Linked DNA regions of Homo sapiens: region 2 is linked to region 1. The links are contacts of gene promoters, found by promoter capture Hi-C in human tissues and cell types (Jung and others, 2019). All regions are on one chromosome and are shown on one strand. Each heading gives the region's core, a stretch centred on a gene start or on the middle of the fragment in contact. The rest is flanking DNA. Distances are from core to core; before and after follow the strand shown. Region 1 holds the start of PEX11A (peroxisomal biogenesis factor 11 alpha). Region 2 overlaps WDR93 (WD repeat domain 93).

Region 1 (4,481 bases), core at 1,267-3,766:
TGTTCACCGTGTTTGCATGAGCATTATTGGCACAGAAAGCAAGGTATTATTTTATGAATGCCAGTGTGGTCATAAAGGTTATACAGATCATCAAGGAGGTTGGGAAATGAATGCTAGAGATCTCAGATCTTTTGGAATAAACATATCTTAAATTATTATTATTATTATTTTTCGAGACAGAGTCTCGCTCTGTTGCCCAGGCTGGAGGGTAGTGGTGCGTTCTTGGCTCTCTGCAAACTCCGCCTCCCGGATTCAAGCGATTCTCCTGCCTCAGCCTCCTGAGTAGCTGGGATTACAGGCATGTGCCATCACGCCCAGCTAATTTTTGCATATTTAGTAGAGATGGGGTTTCACCATGTTGGCCAGGCTGGTCCCGAACTCCTGACCTCATGATCTGCCCACCTCAGCCTCCCAAAGTGCTGGGACTACAGGTGTGAGTCACTGAACCCGGCCTAAATGATGATGATTATTATTTTTAATGTTTTTATTTTTTTTTTAGAAGGAGTCTCGCTCTGTTGCCCAGGCTGGAGTGCAGTGGCGTGATCTTGGCTCACTGCAAGCTTTGCCTCCTGGGCTCATGCCATTCTCCTGCCTCAGCCTCCTGAGTAGCTGGGACTGCAGGCGCCCACCACAACGCCCAGCTAATTTTTGTATTTTTAGTAGAGACAGGGTTTCACCATGTTAGCCAGGATGGTCTCGATCTCCTGACTTTGTGATCCGCCCACCTCAGCCTCCCAAAGTGCTGGGATTACAGGTGTAAGCCACTGCACCCGGCCTAAATGATTATTTTTTTAACCAACTTCCTTGATAAACCCTGCAGGGTACATTCTAGGTACACTGGAATTACAGGTTTCTATTTAATGAAATTTCTATTTAATGAAGCTTGTATATAAAGTAACCATTTAAAAAACCTATCAAACTAATGAGAAAGCCAGTATAGCTTGGTAGTTAAGTGGGCACTGGAGTCATTTGCGTGGATGTGAATCCCTCAGTTCTGCCATTGTAGTACCTATTAACCTCTTTCTGCTTCAGTTTCTCCATCTGAAGTGGGTAAAATATTTAGAGTATCTACCTCATAGGGTTGTGATGAGGGTTATATAAGTTCATAGTTGCAAAACACTGGGAACAATAGCTGTCATAAAGATGGCTTCCAAAAGCCTCATTATTGGGGCCATTCTAATTGATCTGTTTGTATCAGCACTTGCACACCCAGAAGAGAATGCAGAGCTGTTAAATAAAACTGCAACTGTAAATATTTTTTCATTAAGCAAGAATCAACCAAATCTCTAAAACATCATGAACTAGTACTGTATTCGTATTAAAGATACAATCTCTCAGTTCTTTTCGTTTCTTATGGAACCAAAAGAAAAAGAGACACAATCTCTGTTTAATATTTTCAGTAGCACAGCATGAACCTTAGAGGTGCAGTTAGTTCTTTCTGAGCTTCTCCCCACTGTATTTCCCCCCAATCCAGTTGGTGTGGTCTCATCCCCGCTATATTTTGTTTTACAATTTACAAAACTATTCCACATGCAGTATCTCAATGATACAGCCTGGGTAATAATGGAAGAGAACTTCTGTCTCTCCTCAAACATTTCAAGAGGTATTTGAGACCGGGCGCGGTGGCTCGCACCTGTAATCCCAGCACTTTGGGAAGCCGAGGTGGACAGATCACCTGAGGTCAGGAGTTCGAGACCAGCCTGGCCAACATGGCGAAACCCCCGTCTCTACTAAAAATACAAAAAGTAGCCGGGCGTGGTAGTGCACGCCTGTAATCCCAGCTACTCAGGAGGCTGAGGCAGGAGAATCGCTTGAACCCGGGAGGCAGAGGTTGCAGTGGGCCGAGACCGCGCCACTGCCTGGGCGACAGAGCGAGACTCCGTCTCAAAAGAAAAAAAAAAGAGAGATATTTGAAGTCACACCAAGTGGTTTGCTTCCCTAGCCACAAATACTAATCCAAAGTTTCTCTTTAAAGGAGATCCCTCGGAAGAATGTTGAGTGGAGAGAACCAATCTTTCTGTGCCCGGAGAGCAAAGTTAGGAGGGGAGGAGGATCTGTCAGCCGGTGTCCCGTCGTCGGCGGTCTCGAGGCGGCTAGGGTGCCAGGCACTGGGGCTTTCGTGCACGGGGCTAGGACGGGACGCGGGTGCGTTGGGCCCACTCACGTTGAATTTAGGGTAAGGAGGGGCTCGGATACTAAACTCCCTCCGTAGGAGCTGGCAACGTCCTTCCTGCTTCCATCTACTAGGCTATCACCTCCTTTTTCCCGGGTGCAGGGGAATAGGCACGGGAGCCGAGTTAGGGCGAGAAAGGGGCGGAGGCCGCTGGCACCTGACTCACCTGAAGAGTCGGTCCCGGCCCTGGGTCTGGTTGGTGAAGCGGGTGAAGGCGTCCATGGCTTCTAGCCCAAAGGCCACGAGTCGCACGGGGCTCAGGCGTGGGTCCTCTGGGGCCCGTCGGATCCCCAGGGAACGGTCAGTCCCAGGTTATCCGCTGAGGGGGAGGGGCTGAGTCTCTCCGCCCCAGAGGGGGCGGGCACACTTTCTGTAGAGCAACTTCGCGGACTTCCGGTTCAAGCCGGAAGTTGTGGTTACCAAGGCGACGCAACGCCGCCCGGCCAGGTGAGCAAAACTGATCTTACCTTTGGATGCCGGGGCTCCCCTCGAGTCCCAGGACTCCCCTTTACCTGTAGAGTCTCCTAGAGGAAAGTCTGAGGGGGTCCGTCTCCCCAGACTCGGGCGTTTCCGGATGCCTGACGCCTCCCCGCAGATCTCAGGTTCTCAGGAACCCGGGGTGATATCCCGAATGGTCTCTCCAGCCTCAGAACTCCCCTGAGCTCTTGCTTGGGACGGTGGGGCCTAATCATTTCCCAGCGCCGTGCCTCTTTCCCTTGAGCTACACCAGCTCTATGTCTGGTGAAGGAAGTGGTTAGGTCAGAGATAAGCCAATTTCACAGTGTGAACCTAGCATGGGAGGCGGATGAAGTGAGAAAATGTTCTGCTTGGATTATTGAACATTGAAAGAAGATTGTTACCTGAGGAAATCCTAAAAGAGTCATTATGAGCAAAGTGAAGCAAAAATAGATTGCAATGAAATTGCACCGCTGAACATTCGTTCTGTGCGGCTTGAAGAAAAGGAGCCTTACCCACTCCGTGGCAGTAATTTTATAAAATGTACCCTCTATAACCACAAAATAAGGTCGGCCGGTGCTGTGGCTTACGCCTGTAATCCCAACACTTTGGGAGCCGAGGTGGGCGGATCACCTGCGATCAGGAGTTGGAGACCAGCCTGGCCAACAGGGTGAAACCCCGTCTCTACTAAAAATACAAAAAAAGTAGCCGGGCGTGGTGGTGGGCGCCTGTAATCCCAGCTACTCGGGAGGCTGAGGCAGGAGAATCGCTGGAACCCAGGAGGCGGAGGTGGCAGTGAGCCGAGATTGTGCCACTGCTTTCCAGCCTGGGCGACAGAGCGAGACGCTGTCTCAAAAAAATAAAATAAAATAAAATAAGGTGAACATTTTCGTAATCTTTATTCCCTTGGTCAGGCCAGCTCCTAACATTTGCAGGCCCTGGGTAAGAGTACAAATGGAGTCCAGCACACCGTATGTTTAAATATTTTAGTTATAAATCAAGCAACAAATTGTAAAGTAAAATATAGTCTGTTTTCCTACATTGACAAATAGACCCTCATAATGATGTAGAAGGCCAGGTTCATCTTCAGAATCCCTAGACTCCTTAGAATACCTGGAAACACAGCTGGAATATGGCAGTGTGGGGAGAAATGGCTCCCAGTCTTTTCCCACTTCCCTTTCTTTTCTGGTTTCTGGTGCCCACCTGCATTCCCTGCCAGGAGCCTTGTATACCATCCTGATACTCCAAGCCACATCCAACGTCTGCCCGTACCTCTGCAAGCAGCCATGCCTTTGCCACCTTTTCAGATCGAGGAGTGCTCACATTAGCAGCTGGGTCTGCCCTCAGGTGAAAGCTGAGAAGGGCTCATGCAGGCCATGGTGTCATTTGGGCAGTAAATTCCAGGGGTATTGGTACCCTGAACATGGTCTAGACTCCAGAAGAGGGAAACTAGGCTTTGGGTGAGCATATCTCCTTGGCCCCATGGGTTACTCATTTTTTGTAGAGGAAAGAGCCTCGAAGAGAGCCAGAAGTTTTCTCTAAATACGTGGCCCAGGTCAGGGCAATTCTGCAAGCAATGAGAATTTATTGAGTCCTGGCCATATACCAACCACTGTGCTAAACTCTAGTCGTAGGGTAATAGGTTAACAAGGAACACAGTAAACTGATAAGTACAACACAGAGATATGTTAGATGATAGAGGTGAGCACAGGGTGCTTCTAAACACAGATGTGTATCATCTGTTTTTTGTTTTTGTTTTTGAGACAGAGTTTTGCTCTTATTGCCCAGGCTGGAGTGCAATGGCGCAATGTCAGCTCACTGCACCCTTCGTCTCCCGGGTTCAAGCGATTCT
Region 2 (4,481 bases), core at 1,337-3,836, 45 kb after region 1:
GTCCACCTTTTGTATAGTCATCACTCTCCTGGTGAGCTTCTGAAGATCACCAATGTCACATATATGTTACAATTTTTTCTAACAAAATTGTATGATAGCACAGATGACATCTGCTATGGTTTGACTCTCCCCTCCAAAACCCATGTGAAAACTCAATCCCCATTGTGGCAGTACTGTGAGATGGGGCCTTTAGGAGATGATTGGATCATGAAGGCTCTTCCCACATGAATGGATTAACCCACTCATGCATTAATGGATTAATAGGTGAATGGATTAATGGGTATCATGGGAGTGGAAATAGTGGCTTTATAAGAAAAGGAAGAGATACCTGAGCTAGAACATGAGCACACTCAATTCCCTCACCATGTCACACCCTATGCCGTCTCGGGACTCTCTAGAGAGTCCCCACCAGCAAGAAGGCTCTCACTAGCTGTGGACCCTTGACCTTGGACTTCTCAGCCTCCAGAACTGTAAGAAATAAATTCCTTTGCTTTATACATTATCCAGTTTCAGGTATTCTGTTATAAGCAACAGAAAATGGATTAAGACAACATCCTTCCCATCCCATACGGCCAAGAAGAGGCTCATTTCTCCCACAGTAAACTTCCATCAGTTTCTCCAGGGATCTCTCTCTCTTTTAAACATTTAAAAATACCTAATGCATGCAAATGAACCTGTATAATGTGTGTGTGTGTGTGTGTGCGCGCGCGCATGTGTGTACGTGTGTGTGTGTAATAAAGAATAATGAGATCAACTCCCCTGAAACCGTTGGAAATCGATAATCTCCAGTTCCATTTGGGCTCCCTGCATGGCTCTCCCTCATCAATCCTTCTTGCTCCGCCCCAAACACCTTATTAATTACCTAATGCTAAATAACAAACCACCCCAAAACTTAATGGTTTAAGAAAATAGTCAGTGTTTAGTCCTTGAGTCTGTAGGTCAGCAATTTGGACTGGACTCAGTCCGTTTCTTCTACTGGTCTCACCTGGGCTCTCAAATGTGCCTTCAGGCAGCTCACAGCTCTTCTAAGATAGCTTCACTCACACACCTGGCAGTTGGCAGGTTATTGGCCAGTGCACCTCGGTTTTCCTCATGGTCTCTCCTGCAGACTAGTACAGCCTTTCTCACATGGTAGTCTAAGGGCTCCTAGCAGCAGGAGAGGGCAACCATAGCACACAAATGCTTTTCAAGCTTCTGCTCATGTTACATTTGCTAATGTCCCATTGGGCAAAGCACATCCCACATCCATGCCCACATTCAAGCAGTAGAAAAACAGACTCCATCTTTTGATGGGAGTCACTGCCAAATACAGCCAACTGCTTTTCAATCTACCACACCATTTTTCTAAATTCATCATTCCTTTGCTTTCCCTTAAGAATTAACCACATTTAGGCCAGGTACAGAGGGTCACACCTGTAATCCAAGCACTTTGGGAGGCCAAGGCGGGTGGACCACTTGAGCTCAGGAGTTCAAGACCAGCCTGGGTAACATAGTGAGACCCCTTCTCTGTGAAAAGAACAAAAATTATTAAAAAAAGAAAAAGAATTAACCACATTTGTATGACTGTATCTCTAAACAGTATATTATTTAGCTATGCATATTTAGGAAACTTACAAAGCAAACCATATTCTATATATTCTCCAACTTGTCTTCCTTCCTTCCTTCCCTCCGTCCCTCCTTCCTTCCTTCCTTCCTTCTTTCCTTCCGTGCATCCTTCTTTCCTTTCTTTCTTTCTGTTTTGTTTGGTTTTGTTTGAGACACGGTCTCACTCTGTAGCCCAGGCTGGTCTTGAACTCCTGGGCTCAAAGTGCTGGGCCCCCAAAGTGCTGGGATTACAGGTGTGAGCCACTGCACCCAGCCTCCAACTTGTTTTTCAATGGTATTTATTCTGCATCTTGCTTTGCAACATTGTTCACAAGAGCCATACATGTTGATGCATGTAGCTCCAGTTCTTTTATTTTCATTACCATATTATATTTCATTGTATAAGATACCACAATGACTTAAGCATCCTCCTAATAGATATTTGGATTGTTCTTAATTTTTTGCTACTATGAACAGCCTCCTCACATATTTCTTGATTTCTCTGAATTTCTCCAGGATATATGCCTAGAAGAGGATATCAAAACTTTTAAACTCTTAAAGTAGGAGAATGTCTGTATATTTTCTGTCCTATAGGCCTGTAAAGCACCTGGATAAAACCATCTGTGCCGTGGCCCCAGTCCCAGCCTTACCTGGCATGGTAGGTTCCCCATGCCTCTCTGTAAATGCCCCATGCCTCTCATTTCTCTTCTGTGAATGTGTTCATCTGTCCTTTAGAAAATGCTTATTGAAGGCCTGTTATGTGTTAGGCACTGGACTAGCTTTCGGGTTTACAAATAGAAAGAGAAAGAACCTGCCTTCATGGAGCACACAGCTCATTTGGGAAGACAGAGAAGTCACCAGGCAGCTGCCTTAGAACATGAGAAAGGCTGTGATAGGGATTTTTTAATGGATGCATGGAACAGAGAGAGGGTCACCTAACTCAACCTGCAGAAGTTGGCAGCAGGGGAGGACTGTGTTTTCTGGAGGAGGTGACAGCTGAGCTGAGCCAGAGGAGTTGAGAAGGCAACACCATGGAGGCAAGAGAGCACCACGTGTCCCGGGCACTGCAGGAAGTCCCAGTATCTGCCACATGAGATTGCTGTGGAATGTGGAGAGGGAGGAGGCTGGGGCGGGAAGACAGGTGGGCCAGACCATGGAAGGTCCTGTACACTGCGCAGAAGGATACAGATGTGTCCCTGTGTGGGATGGGGCTCAAACAGAGAGGTCAGAGAATGGGAACAGCATATTTAGAGCAGGGATGGAGAGTTGAGAGATCTCAGTTCGGCGATGGACTCCACATTCTTCACTACCTGTGGCTGTTGCCAAAGGAGAGGGAAGCGTGCGCGGTTGATCCTCGCTTGCAGAGGTGATTCCCCAGTCCTTACAGGGCCCACTTCAGGCCTGGAGAGAAAGTCTGTGATTCCTGGTGTGGCCCTACGGAGGGTGAGGGGCCTACAGGACCCCCAGGGGAGGCTCCAAGAGAGCCAAGGGCTGAAAATGTAGATTCCATGCTCACCAGCCAGGTACAGTTAGTGAGAGGTGGTTGAAGTGGGGCGTACAGCAGGTTCCCCTTGTTAAAGAGAGGGAGTGAATAGAGAAGAGGTTCCCATGGGCACTACCATCACTTACAGGACCTGGAAAATCAGTTCACAAAGTGACCGTGAGGGGCCCCAGGGAAAACTGCATGGGGACAGTCCTGCAAGCAGAGAGGAGAGTCTAAAGAAAGTGAGAGCAGTGTCCTGTGCTGCAGAAAAACCAAGAACATGGTGGAGACGAGTGGCTGAAGCTGGGAGACAGACGCAGGAGGTGGGGGAGTGGACAGGGTGTGGAGAGACCCTCTTGTGTGGGGAGGGGAAAGTGGTGTGGCAGCTGGAGGAGGCTGTTGGGTCAAAGGGGGCTTTTTTTTTTTTTTTTGAAACGGAGTCTCGCTCTGCCGCCCAGGCTGGAGTGCAGTGGTGCAATCTTGGCTCACTGCAAGCTCTGCCTCCCGGGTTCACACCATTCTCCTGCCTCAGCCTCCCGAGTAGCTGGGACTACAGGTGCCCGCTAGCACGCCAGGCTAATTTTTTGTATTTTTAGTAGAGACGAGGTTTCACCGTGTTAGCCAGGATGGTCTCGATCTCCTGACCTCGTGATCCGCCCACCTTGGCCTCCCAAAGTGCTGGGATTACAGGCATGAGCCATCGCGCCCGGCCAAAGGGGACTTTCTAAGGATGGGGAGAGTTTAGTATGTTCACTGCAGAGGAAAGAGCCCAGGCAAGAGAGCATCCCCAGCTCAGATCTCAGGCCAGGAGGGGCTGTTAGATTGAGCAAGGTCCCTGAGGCAGTGGGAAGGAAAGGCATTGGGAGCACAGGTGAGAAATGGAATCTTGGCTACATGGAGGGTGAGCTCTTCAGCAGAGAAGCAGAGAACTTGGAAGAGAGGCTGGGAAAAAGGGGAGGAATGCATAGCCCTGGAGCAGACAGCATGTGGAGGAGGGTCTGTTGGCTGAGGGGGACCCCAAGCACACATGTGTGTGCAGGTCTCCAGCAGCCCTGGATGGATCCAGAGGCTGGGGCCCAAGAGGTTTTATGTCCAGCTGCTTCTCTCATTCCTTACTGGGGTGACCTCTACACGACCTTCCTGTGAGGGACAGAGTCCAGTAGAAGCCCCCCTCACCATCTCTTTGCTTCCCAGGTGCTCATCTTTTCCAAGAATGGCTCTGTGTGCCTTATGGATGTGGCCAAGCGTGAAATCATCTGTGCCTTTGCCCCTCCGGGAGCCTTTCCTCTGGAGGTCCCCTGGAAGCCAGTGTTTGCTGTGTCTCCAGACCATCCATGTTTCCTGCTCCGAGGTACAGAAAGGGACCAGGGCTGATGCCCACTGACCATTTCCCTGACTTAGTTCTCTCACAAAC

The links. The method cuts DNA at HindIII sites, captures the fragments that hold promoters and counts their contacts. A contact is called where the count stands out against the background at its distance.
Region 2: a fragment that was not itself captured here is called in contact with the fragment with the promoter of PEX11A in region 1 in 1 of the 25 tissues and cell types used here (thymus).

What each region holds. Positions count from the first base shown.
Region 1 is chr15:89,688,238-89,692,718 of GRCh38, forward strand. PEX11A (peroxisomal biogenesis factor 11 alpha) reads right to left here and starts at 2,517. Exons shown (of 3, transcript NM_003847.3): 1 at 2,340-2,517. The coding sequence starts at 2,395. WDR93 (WD repeat domain 93) reads left to right here and starts at 2,574. Exons shown (of 17, transcript NM_020212.2): 1 at 2,574-2,620. It also overlaps the pseudogene RPL36AP43. RefSeq lists an enhancer at 2,352-2,441. The HindIII fragment of the contact is 14,807 bases long and covers 722-4,481 here.
Region 2 is chr15:89,733,312-89,737,792 of GRCh38, forward strand. WDR93 (WD repeat domain 93) reads left to right here. Exons shown (of 17, transcript NM_020212.2): 14 at 2,179-2,242; 15 at 4,262-4,418. It also overlaps a transcript of MESP1 not described here. Among named protein-coding and RNA genes, the nearest start is that of MESP1, 16 kb to the right of the region's middle. The HindIII fragment of the contact is 7,254 bases long and covers 1-4,481 here.